3 separate regions of the Homo sapiens genome follow, and all the other regions are linked to region 2. The links are contacts of gene promoters, found by promoter capture Hi-C in blood cells and fetal thymus (Javierre and others, 2016). All regions are on one chromosome and are shown on one strand. The core of a region is centred on a gene start or on the middle of the fragment in contact, and the rest is flanking DNA. Distances in the headings are between cores, read along the strand shown.

What was found. Contacts are between HindIII fragments. The CHiCAGO score rates a contact against its expected background, and 5 or more counts as called.
Region 1: a contact is called between the fragment with the promoter of ITGAD here and a fragment that was not itself captured in region 2, in 1 of 17 cell types (erythroblasts). The highest score is 5.7, in erythroblasts.
Region 3: a contact is called between the fragment with the promoter of RUSF1 here and a fragment that was not itself captured in region 2, in 6 of 17 cell types (M0 macrophages, neutrophils, M2 macrophages and 3 more). The highest score is 7.5, in M0 macrophages.

What each region holds. Positions count from the first base shown.
Region 1 is chr16:31,391,336-31,394,865 of GRCh38, forward strand. It overlaps ITGAD (integrin subunit alpha D), which reads left to right and starts at 2,000. Exons shown (of 30, transcript NM_005353.3): 1 at 2,000-2,056; 2 at 2,901-3,006. The coding sequence starts at 2,026. The HindIII fragment of the contact is 1,676 bases long and covers 408-2,083 here.
Region 2 is chr16:31,852,302-31,856,201 of GRCh38, forward strand. No RefSeq gene overlaps it. Among named protein-coding and RNA genes, the nearest start is that of ZNF267, 20 kb to the right of the region's middle. The HindIII fragment of the contact is 1,077 bases long and covers 820-1,896 here.
Region 3 is chr16:31,506,478-31,510,463 of GRCh38, forward strand. It overlaps RUSF1 (RUS family member 1), which reads right to left and starts at 1,914. Exons shown (of 13, transcript NM_022744.4): 1 at 1,597-1,914; 2 at 1,287-1,401. The coding sequence starts at 1,896. RUSF1-DT (RUSF1 divergent transcript) reads left to right here and starts at 1,987. Exons shown (of 2, transcript NR_186401.1): 1 at 1,987-2,559; 2 at 2,696-3,089. RefSeq lists enhancers at 900-1,615, 1,616-2,330, 1,895-2,464 and silencers at 1,625-1,684, 1,745-1,794. The HindIII fragment of the contact is 29,640 bases long and covers 1-3,986 here.

The DNA of each region.
Region 1 (3,530 bases), core at 750-3,249, 460 kb before region 2:
ATGTTTTGTTTGTTTCATTTTGTTTTGTTTTTGAGACAGAGTCTTGCTCTGTTGCCCACGCTGGAATGCAGTGGTGTGATCTTGACTCACTGCAACCTCTGCCTCCTGGGTTTAAGCGATTCTCCTGCCTCAGCTTCCTGAGTAGCTGGGATTACAGGCGTGCACCACCATGCCTGGCTAATCTTTGTATTTTTAGTAGAGATGGGGTTTCACCATGTTGGCCAGGCTGGTCCCGAACTCCTGACCTCAAGCTATACACCTGCCTCAGCCTCCCAAAGTGCTGGAATTACAGACATAAGCCACTGTGCCCAGCCAAATGTTTTAAATAATTGTCACATATATATACAAAATAATTTATGTTATAGGTAGGGATCTTGTTATATTTTAACCTTCAAAGTATATTCCTAAGCTTTTTATTTATTTTTTATTTTTTATTTATTGAGACAGTCTTGCTCTGTCGCCCAGGCTGGAGTGCAGTGGCGCAATCTTGACTCACTGCAAACTCTACCTCCTGGGTTCAAGCGATTCTCCTGCCTCAGCCTCCTGAGTAGCTGGGATTACAGGTGCGCACCACCATGCCCAGCTAATTTTTGTATTTTTAGTAGAGACGGGGTTTCACCATATTGGCCAGAGCTGGTCTCAAACTCCTGACCTCAGGTGATCCATCCACCTCAGCCTCTCAAAGTGCTGGGATTATAGGTGTGAGCCACTGCGCCTGGCCTATTCCTAGCCTTTTATATATAGACCTTTTTCTTTTTCACATTTTAAAGGAACTTTTATGTTTAATCATGGAATATTTCAAACATACAGAAAAATCACAGAAAATAAATAACAACCACTCATTTATCTTCTCCCCAACCCCATGTAATAAATATTAAAATATTGTGTTAAATGCTAAATTTAACACATGCTAAAGGTTCCTGGCTGGATGTGGTGGCTCACGCCTGTAATCCCAGTACTTTGGGAGGAGGAGGTGGGAGGATTGCTTGAGTCCAGGAGCTCGAGACCAGCATGGGCAACATAGTGCGATCTCGTCTCTACAAAAAACAAAAAAATTAGCTGGGCATGGTGGTGTGCATCAGTAATCCCAGTGACTGGGAGGCTGAGGTGGGAGAATTGCTTGAGTCTGGGAATTTGAGGCTGCAGTGAGCCCTGATCATGCCACTGCATTCCAGCATGGGCGACATAGCAAAACTTGTCAAAAAAAAAAAAAGTTTCCTCTCTGCCCCACCATAGACAACCACTCTTCTGATTTCTATCTTCGTAGATGAATTTTGCCCATTCTCTTGTATATGAAAGGAACCAGACATTAGGCATTCTGGTGTCTGGTTTCTTTCACTTAAGATAAAATTGAGTTAACCTGTATTGTTGTACAGAACTGCAGTTTGTTCTTTGTTATTTATTGTAAAGACAGGGTCTGGCTATGTTGCCTAGGCTGGTCTCGAACTGTTGGCCTCAAGCAATCCACCTGCCAAGCTCTGGGACCACAGGCATGAGCCATGGCATCTGATCTGTAGTTTGATCTTATTTCTTGCTGAGTAGTAGCCCATGGCATGACTTTATTATTTTGGGTGTCCATTCTCCTCTGGAGGGGCTCTGCTTTTTGAAACCACACCCTGGCCTAGCTCCCCTTCTCCCTGCCTCTCTGCCGGCTCACATCCACATGCCAAGACCTCTGCAGCCATTCTGCTTCCTGTCCTTCCACTCCTGTGGGACCTCAGAGAGCTACGGGGCTCCCTGGGTACCAACTGGCTCCTGAGGCCTGGGGGAGGGTGGTCTTCTGGGAGAAGGAAGCCAGGTCCCTGCAGGTTGTGGAGGGGGACAGAATGAGGGTTTTTCCCCAGGGTGTTGTTGGCCCCTGCCCCCACTTCTGTTCCATAATTAACCACGCCCCTCCTACCCACTGTGCCCCTCTTCCTGCTGTGTGGAGGCCCTGAATCATTATTTTAACTACCCCCTGGGAGGGTGAGCACCTTCTGTGCTCTGTCCCCAACCTTCCACTTCCCCTCAACGCGCTGCTCAGGGATGACCTTCGGCACTGTGCTTCTTCTGAGTGGTAAGTGGGGCCAGGGTGCTGGGGAGAAGCTTGGAGGAGTTCTGAGGGGACTCCATCTGGGAGGGCAGGCTGGGGGCTGGTGGTCGGCTCCAACCACTCTTATGAGGAGCTGAGGCAGGGGAGTGCTTCATGTGCGAGTGGCCCGGAGTCAGTAGAGTGTGACCTGAATGAAGAGGGGCTCAGGGGCTGTGCTCAGGTGGCGACTAAGCTACCTCTCCAGCTGGCTATGTTGTCCCAGGCTTCCCTGCTCCCACTCATGGAGTCCCTGGTGTGGGTGACAGAGGTCTCCCCAGCCTCCCCCGGGAGTGGAAGGCCACAGAAGCCACCAGGGAGGGGGAAAGGTTGGACATCACCTCCCTGGGCCTGTTTCCCCCAAGTCCTGACTGCACGTAGGGAAGAGGCCCCCTGCTGAAAACTGCATCAGAGTCACATTCACGTGCCATCAAAAATCAGGCTTGGCTGGGTGCGGTGGCTCATGCTTATAATCCCAGCACTTTGGGAGGCCGAGATGGGCGTATCCCCTGAGGTCAGGAGTTTGTGACCAGCCTGGCCAACATGGTGAAACCCCATCTTTACCAAAAATATAAAAATTAGCCGGGCATGGTGGCGTGCACTTGTAATCCCAGCTACTTGGGAAGCTGAGGCAAGAGAATCGCTTGAACCCAGGAGACGGAAGTTGCAGTGAGCTGAGATCGTGCCGTTGCACTCCAGCCTCAGCAACAGAGCGAGACTCCATCTCAAAAAAAAAAAAAAAAAAAAGAAAAAAAAGAAAAAGAGGCTGGGAGGTCCTAGGGATTGGGGCTTCTTTAACTCCCAGCCTCCCCGCCCACCAAATATTCCTCAGTCCTGGCTTCTTATCATGGATTCAACCTGGATGTGGAGGAGCCTACGATCTTCCAGGAGGATGCAGGCGGCTTTGGGCAGAGCGTGGTGCAGTTCGGTGGATCTCGGTAGGCCCCACTCACCCTCCTTCCCCAACCTCCACTACATCAAGTCCTGTGGATGGGTACACGTGGGTTACCCCAGGGAGGTGTCCTGGAGGAAGGCCAGCAGGGGTGAGAAGTCTTCCCTTGGCTCCTTGGAGGCCCTGACATCAGCACCTATTATTCTCAATCCCAGGAAAGGCCACAAAACTCTAGACAAGACCCTACCTTACCTCGGGAGGGAAGCCTTGAACCTGCCTCCCAGGCAGGGCCCACTTCTTGGGGCCAGTATGGTCACACAGGGCCCACACTCATTAACTTTGGAGTTTAATGTTCTGCCCTTGACCTCTTGAAATTCCTGATTATTTTTATTTTTATTTTTACTCCAGCTCTGTTACCCAGGCTGGAGTGCAGTGGTGCAATCACAGCTTACTGCAGCCTCAAACTCTCGGGCACAAGTGATCCTCTCACCTCAGCCTCCTGAATAGCTGGGACCACAGGTGCATGCCATCATGCCTGTTTTTTGTTTTGTTTTGTTTTACTTTTTACAG
Region 2 (3,900 bases), core at 108-2,607:
TATTACTTTTCTAAGTCCTTTCATAAACAACTTCCTCTTTTCATTTATCTTTCCATTGCTTTTACCTGTTTAAAAAATTTTAAGTTATTAGCCAATCAGGTTTTAATTTAAATTATGAAGTCTGTCTCCAGCCAATAAAAACAGGACACAAGAGCAGGGACAAGCTACATAAAAAATAAAAATTGCTTCCCTCCCTTGTTCAAATGTGCTCTTGCCATTGTTCCATCTGCAAGGAGCACCCTTTCTGCAGAAAGTAAAATTTCCTTGCTAAAAAAACCTTTTTGTCTAAATGCTAATTTTTCCTTACATGACCGAAAAACAAGCATTCTGTTTCTAAATAAACGTCTTACCTATAACATATACCATTACAAAATTACAAATATCCTTTCGAACATCTGTAAATTTATGTGCTCATGATATTAAAATTTATATTTTTATCTGAAAATAGTTATAATTCAGTGAGACACAAGAACAAAATTATGAGAGAGTTATCTACATCATTGAGAAAATCCTCCTGCCACTACCAACGTAAGTCGTGATCACTCACTTTTACTAAAGCTGAGAAACATCCATTTGCCCAGCGGAGTCCTGGAGTGAGTCTGTGTGTGTGGATGGTGGTCCCTGAGACTTGGTTATAAAGAAGGGATACTGTCAGCTCGTCTCCCTCCAGGCCCATAACTGTCATGTCACCTGTAGAAGCAGGACAGCCCTGGCCTCGAGATTATTGGAAAGGGGAGCAACAAAAGGAAAAACTGAACACATTTAATTCCTGGAAAAGATCAGTGTAGGACAGATGGGTTTCAAACTTTAACGTGTGCAAGCTTGTTTTCTTAGGTAATTTTGCCCAGGAGGGTTGTCTGGTCTCAGTTATTGCCAATAAAGTAGAAGCAATAACTATAGTTTCAAACTTTGTTTAATTTCTGTGTTGCTTTACCAAACATCCTTGCTAACTGAAGAAATTTCTGGGGGCCTTCACACATGGTCCCCAGTTGTCCCTACGTTTCAATATTACAGGTAGTCTATGTAAAACTTTTTTGGGAATGAAGAAAATGCCCCCTGCACCAGGCTTACATAGCGCTTACAGTGAAGTTGTTTCTACTTACAGGGATGTTTAACTACACAGTCAGCATGAGAGCATGTGGAATAAAATGATTAACACATTCTTAGCAACTGACAACTTTTATTTGCTTCTGAGACACCACCAACCACACCTATGTTATAACTAGTGCTAACTTTAACCTTGATCATGATTGCCACATTTGGAGTTACACTTTCTTAATCAAACATCATCTGATACTGAAGTGGTGACTTCTCATGCACTTAATCTATAGATTTTCCCCCAAGGCACCAGTTCTGAATATGTTTGAGTTCATGCTGGTGTACCTCTCATGTGCCATATCTGAGGCTCTAACAAATAAACTCTCCAGGCCGGGCACGGTGGCTCATGCCTGCAATCCCAGCCCTTTGGGAGGCCAAGGCAGGCGGATCACTTCAGGTCAGGAGTTTGAGACCAGCTGGCCAATACGGTGAAACCCCGTCTCTACTAAAAACACGGAAATTAGCCAGGCATCATGGCAGGCACCTGGAATCCCAGCTATTCAGGAAGCTGAGGCAGAAGAATCACTCAAACCCAGGAGGCAGAGGTTGCAGTGAGCTGAGATCGGGCCACTGCACTCTAGGCTGGGCAACAGAGCGAGATTCTGTCTCAAAAATTAAAATAAAATAAAATACAAAATAAACTTTCCATTCAGCTGCAGTCAGGACCACTTGATCCCCAGACTTCTACTGTCTTCAGTGACAATTCTCCCTGTCATCTTAAACCCAGCTGCCATCACTATGACGTTGGTGCTCAATCCAGTCAGTGTCCTTAGGTCTTGATTTATTTTCCTTCTCTGAAGCTTTTCAATTACTTCTTTATAAATTATTTTGTCTGATGCTCACAGAAAAAGCCTGCCTAATAAGAACCCTATACCCACAAAAACTAGCTATTAAAAATGAAGGTTAAATAAAAACATTTTATGTAAATAAAAACTGATACAATTTGTTGCTAGCCAACTGACCTTATGAAAAAATGGCAAAAGAAGTTTTTCAGGCTGAAAGCAAGTAAATCCAGACAATAATTTGAATGCATAAGAAAGACAAAGCACACACTAGCAAAACTAATTACATAATTATAAGACAGTGTAAGTGAATTTATTTATTTATTTATTTATTTGCACATGAATAAATTCTTTAGTGGCGATTTCTGAGATTTTGGTGCACCCATCTCCCAGGGGCCTAATAACAGCTCCAGAAGGCCTGCCATCACTGGTGCCCTAGCATGAGCTCCAGAGGTCTGGGACTTCCCCTGCCCTGCCCACAGCCTATGCTCATGTGCATCACTAGGAGGACTTGAGAACAGGCCCACCTCACCTGCCTCTCTCCCACCCTTAGTGGTCAAATATTCCACTTGTGGACCTGAGGACAGCATTGTACAGGTGGTAGCCTCTGGCATGAGTCCACCAGGGTCCTAAAAACAGGCCAAGAAAATGTGCAGCCAGCACTCAAGCATGCTGTCTAAAGGTCTAGGAATCTCCCATGCCATCCACCACTGCTGTCATCTGGGTACTCTTGGGGTCCTAAGGATGGGCCCACCCAGACAACCACCAGCATCCACACTCATGTGTCACCTAAGGCTCTAGGGACTGTCTGATTCAGCCCATTGCAGCCACCACAAACACTGTGAGTGCTGCCTGGAAGCCTGAAGTTGCCTCAACCCCACTACTCTCCTCATCCACACGGTACACACTGCTCAGAGGCCTGAGGACTTGCCCCATTTCCTAGCCCACTGCTGTTACTACAGACATCAGAGCAAGCCTCCTGAAGGCCTGAGAATCAACAGGCTTAGGCACACTAACACCAGTGCCCACATACACTACCCAGCAGCCCAAGGACAGACACCCTCAACCCTTTACTGCTGCCACTGTCACCATGGGGGCTGAAGGACTGGCCTATCTGGTGTTCCATTCCTACCAAAACCTCACCACAGCCTCAACTAGCAAACACAGCCTAAGCAAGGTTATACCTCATAATGAAGGAGAAATAAAGACGTTCCCAGACAAGCAAAAACTGAAGAAATTCATCACCACTAGACAAGCCCTGGAAGATTACCTAGACAGAAAATCAATAATGAAACATCAGATTTAAACTGTACTTTAGACCAGGGGTCCCCAACCGTCGGGTCACAGACCAATACCCACCCCTGGCTTGTTAGGAACCAGGAAGCTCAGCAGGAGGTGAGTGGCAGGTGAGCCAGTGAAGCTGAGCTCTACCTCCTGTCAGATCAGCAGCAGCATTAGATTGTCATAGGAGCTCAAACCCTATTGTGAACTGCACATGCCAGTGATCCAGGCTGTATGCTCCTTATGAGAATCTAATGATAAATGTAATGCACTTAAATTATCCTGAAATCATCCCCCTCCCCTAGTCCTAGGAAAAATTGTCTTCCACGAAACCAGTTCCTGGTGCCAAAAAGGTTAGGCACCGTTGCTTTAGACCAAAGGAACCTAACAGACATCTGCAGAACACTTGATCCAATGACTGCAAAACATACATTCTTCTCAGAAGCACATGGAACAGTCTTCAGGATAGACCCTCTGTTAGGCCAGAAAACGAGTCTTAACAAATGTTTAAAAATTGAAATCATATCAAGTATTTTCTCATACTACAGTGAAATAAAGCCAAAAATCAGTAGCAAAAGGAACTTTGAAAACTGTACAAATACATGAAAATTAAATGACATGCTCCAGAACAACCATTGGGTTAATACAGAAATCCAAACAAATATTTAAAAAATGAAGATGAAAACACAATATTTTGGAAACTATGAAATGCAGCAAAAGCAGTGTTGAGGGAAGTTTA
Region 3 (3,986 bases), core at 664-3,163, 350 kb before region 2:
CATTCCAAAAATACGGCCAACAAGCCGGGCGCAGTGGCTCACGCCTATAATCCCAGCACTTTGGGAAGCTGAGGCGAATGGATCACCCGAAGTCAGGAGTTCGAGACCAGCCTGGCCAACATGGTGAAACTCTGTCTCTACTAAAAATACAAAAAATTAGCGGGGCAGGGTGGCACATGCCTGTAATCCCAGCTACTTGGGAAGCTGAGGCAGGAGAATCGCTTGAACCCGGGAGGAGGAGGCTGCAGTGAGCTGAGATTGTGCCACTGCACTCCTGCATCCCAGCCTGGGTGACAGTGAGACTACGAGTCTGGAAAAAAAAAAATAGAGATGGGGGTCTCCCTATGTTGCCCAGGATGCCTCAGCCTCCCAAAGTACGAGGATTAAAGGCGTGAGCCACCGTGCCCGGCCCAGTTTTCTCAGTCTTAATGGTAAAGGTGTAAACAGGAAGCTCCTGTTTTCTCAAAAAAATCCAGAGAGGCTCACAAGGGATGTGGCCAGACTGATGCTACGAATGGAAAGCGCTTTTCCTTAGATCTATTAGGTTGGCTCAAATGTAATTGCGGGTTTTCCATTACCTTTAATGGCAATAACGACAAAGAAACCCCGCAATTACTTTTGCACCAGCCTAATAAATATCCCCTGCGAGCAGTAGTGAAAGACAAAGGACAGTGGCAAAAGCCATGGGGCCTCCTCGTGTAGAACATGTAACAATTTCCCTTTTCTGTTCTATTTCCCTCTCTGGGTGGCATGGTACCAAACTGTATTTTTTTTCCTTAAACAATTTTTTAAAAGCTGTACATATTCAGCAGATAGTCACTCTATTATTTACAGCATCATCTGGTATCCCAGAGCATACACAATACCTTCCATTCTTTCCAGGCTCTCCTCTCTCCTTCTCAGGACCAACTATATCTTTTTTTTCTGGAGCTCACCAATTTCCCCTATCCTGGGCAGCTGGCAGTTTTATTCCATCAATTGCATTCTTATGCAATCTTCCACAAAGAGAATAGGGATAAAGGGGAGGGGACGGGATTTGGGATCCAGATGATTGAGACTCAGAAGTCTGTGTGGGGAATGGAGTGCGGCTGCTAGGCTGGTGAGTGGGATGAGGGTCTTCCAGATGTGGGAAGTAAGACTGGGTTACAAAGCACCACTCTAATCACTGGGGAGACCTGCCTGAATTCTACCTAATGGGGCACGAGTCCATACATATATACACATAAGAGCCCAGCGAAAGCAGGGCTGAAAGCAGCAATACGTGAGGCTCCAGGGGTGCAGCTCACCTTTCACGAGCCAGGTGGCCGTGGCAGCTGAAACAGTGGCTTTTGCGTTCCCCACCCCTATGCCCAGCAAGACTGCCTGGGTGGCTAGGGAGCCGGAGAGGCTGGAAGCAAACGCCTGGAGAAGAAAACAAGTAGGGTGAGAAGCGGGCGTAGGAGCGTGGCGGTCTAAGTGCCTTCATCTGTTCTTGTTCTTGGTGTATGAGGCATGTCAGACCCCCCGCCCCCCGGGCTCCGAGTCTCAGTCACCCGTCCATTATTGGGGAGGGAGGAGTGGCCTGCACTGTCCTCTGCCCCAGACGACCGAGCTGACCTGCACGGAATCCCACAGCTGGTAGGGCAAGTAGTCCGGGCTGACGCTATCAGGGAAGCCCTGAGGCAGGAACACGGCCTGGAGCCCGGAGAGGGGCGGTGAGGGGGCCCCGGAAGCCCCCACTTCGCCCGCATCTCGTCCTTCAGGTTTGACCGTGAAGGCCCTGGAGAGCCCCCACCAGCGCCAGCCCCCGACCTCCCACTGCAGGCTCCCGTCCGCGGCGGCGCGGCAGCCCCGTGCCTCCCCGGAGCCGAACTGCTCGGAACACAGCGGGGTCTCCAAACCCGCGTCGTCAGCCATGCCGAGCTTTTGGATCCCAGCCCCGCCCCTGCCGCACGGTGGACGTGGCAGGCGGCACTTCCGGCTGGGCTACCGCGGCTGCAGAGGGACATCTTTCAAGAACAGGCGCCGGCCTCGGCGTCCGCCGCGCAGTTAGGAAACTGACTGTCGCTCTCTCCGGCCTCGGCGCTGCTTCGGACGCCCCGGCACCGGCCCCCGTTGCTTTGTAGCATTCTGCAGCTGGGCTGCAGGCGCCGTGGGCCTCCGCCAGTTGTGTTCGAGACGCGGTTCGGCCACAGAAGTTTTAGCTTGTGACTTTTGGCAAGTCAGTGGCCCTCTCTGGGCCTCAGGTGCCTTTTTTGCTGTGAGACCAGCGACTGTATTTTTAACCCTGATTTTATCCCTAGATCTACCCAACACATAGTAGGTGCTCAAAAGATATTTATGAGTGAATGAATGCATCATGAGAAGAAATTGGACCAGATGAGGCCCTGTGAAGCTGCTTGGGTCTTTTTTTGTTCTTTTTTTTTTCTCTCTTCTGAGTGTCCCTGGCCTGGACTAGAAATTCTCCATCCTTCGGCCTTCTGCGAGACTGCAGGAACATTACTTTTGAAGGATGCTAAGGAATCCGAGGGATGAAAAAAATCAAGAGATTGCAATGATGTCACAAAACAAGGAAACAAGGCAGGAAGTTCTTGTGTGTTTTTTTGCGGGAGAGAGTCCATGAAATTGGGGGGAGTCCAAAGAGGGAGTGTTTCTGTCCTTGGAACTCACCTTTTCTTCTTTCCATTTCTCCTCTTCTCCTTCCCATCTAGTGCAGCATCTTCACTCCGAAGCAGAAATTTGCCAAAAAAGCATCCTCTTTTTATCAGAAAATAAAATATCCTGGTTTCTTAGCCTGGCATTCTTGGATCCCCACAGTTTGATCCCAACCGACAACTCCTTATTTGAAACTTCAGATTCTCCCAAACCGTCACCTTCCTCGTGGACTTAATCCTGGAAGGCCCTTCTACCCCACTTCGCCTTATCTCACACAAACACAGTCTCTCTCTGACTGAGATAAACTTGAACACTTCTTTTCTTTTCTTTTTTTTTTTCTTTAAATTTCGGGTTTCAAAATACAAATGGCCTAATCACAACATTTCTGTAATGTTGTCTAAATTCAGGTACTGGTTTGAATAGAGGACAAAAATAAAACAAGGTTTGAAGACTAAGTACTTTAAAAACATATTTATTTAAATAGAGGCAGGGCCTCCCTATGTTGCCCAGGCTGCTCTCAAACTCCTGGCCTCAAAAGTGATCCTTGGGCTGGGCGTGGTGGCTCACGCCTGTAATTCCAGCACTTTGGGAAGTCGAGCCAGGTGGATCACTTGAGGTCAGGAGTTTAAGACCAGCCTGGCCAACATGTTGAAACCCCATCTCTACTAAAAATACAAAAATTAGCTGGGCGTGGGGGTGGTGTGGCCATAATCCCAGCTATCCGGGAGGCGGAGGCAAGAAAATCGCTTGAACCGTGCAGTTGTCATTAACTCCGTGTTTGTTATCTCTTTTTTACCAATGGTTTGCCAGTTTCTTCTACAAATACCTGTTGCTACCTATGTGCTCATTGGGATAGTGAGCAAAAACAAACAAGGGTCTTGGTCTTTTGGAACTTATATTAGGGAAGGATATTGATCAAATCATACAAATAAATGCAAAGTTGGAACTATTTCAATTGCTGTAGAGGGGTACATGTTATTTAATATGAGGACTTTTAGAAGGAGAATTGAGCTAATCAGTGGAATCAAGGGAAACTTTTTTTTTTGAGATGGAGTCTCCCTCTGTCACCCAGGCTGGAGTGCAGTGGCACAGTCTTGGCTTACTGCAACCTCCACCTCCTGGGTTCAAGTGATTCACCTGCCTCACCCTCCGGAGTAGCTGGGGTTACAAGCATTCACCACCACACCCAGCTAATTTTTGTATTTTTAGTAGAGACGGGGTTTTGCCATGTTGGCCAGGCTGGTCTTGAACTCCTGGCCTCAACTCATCTGCTTGCCTCGCCTCCCAAAGTGCTGGGATTACAGGCATGAGCCACTGTGCCCGGCCAAGGGAAATTTTTTAACAAAAATTTA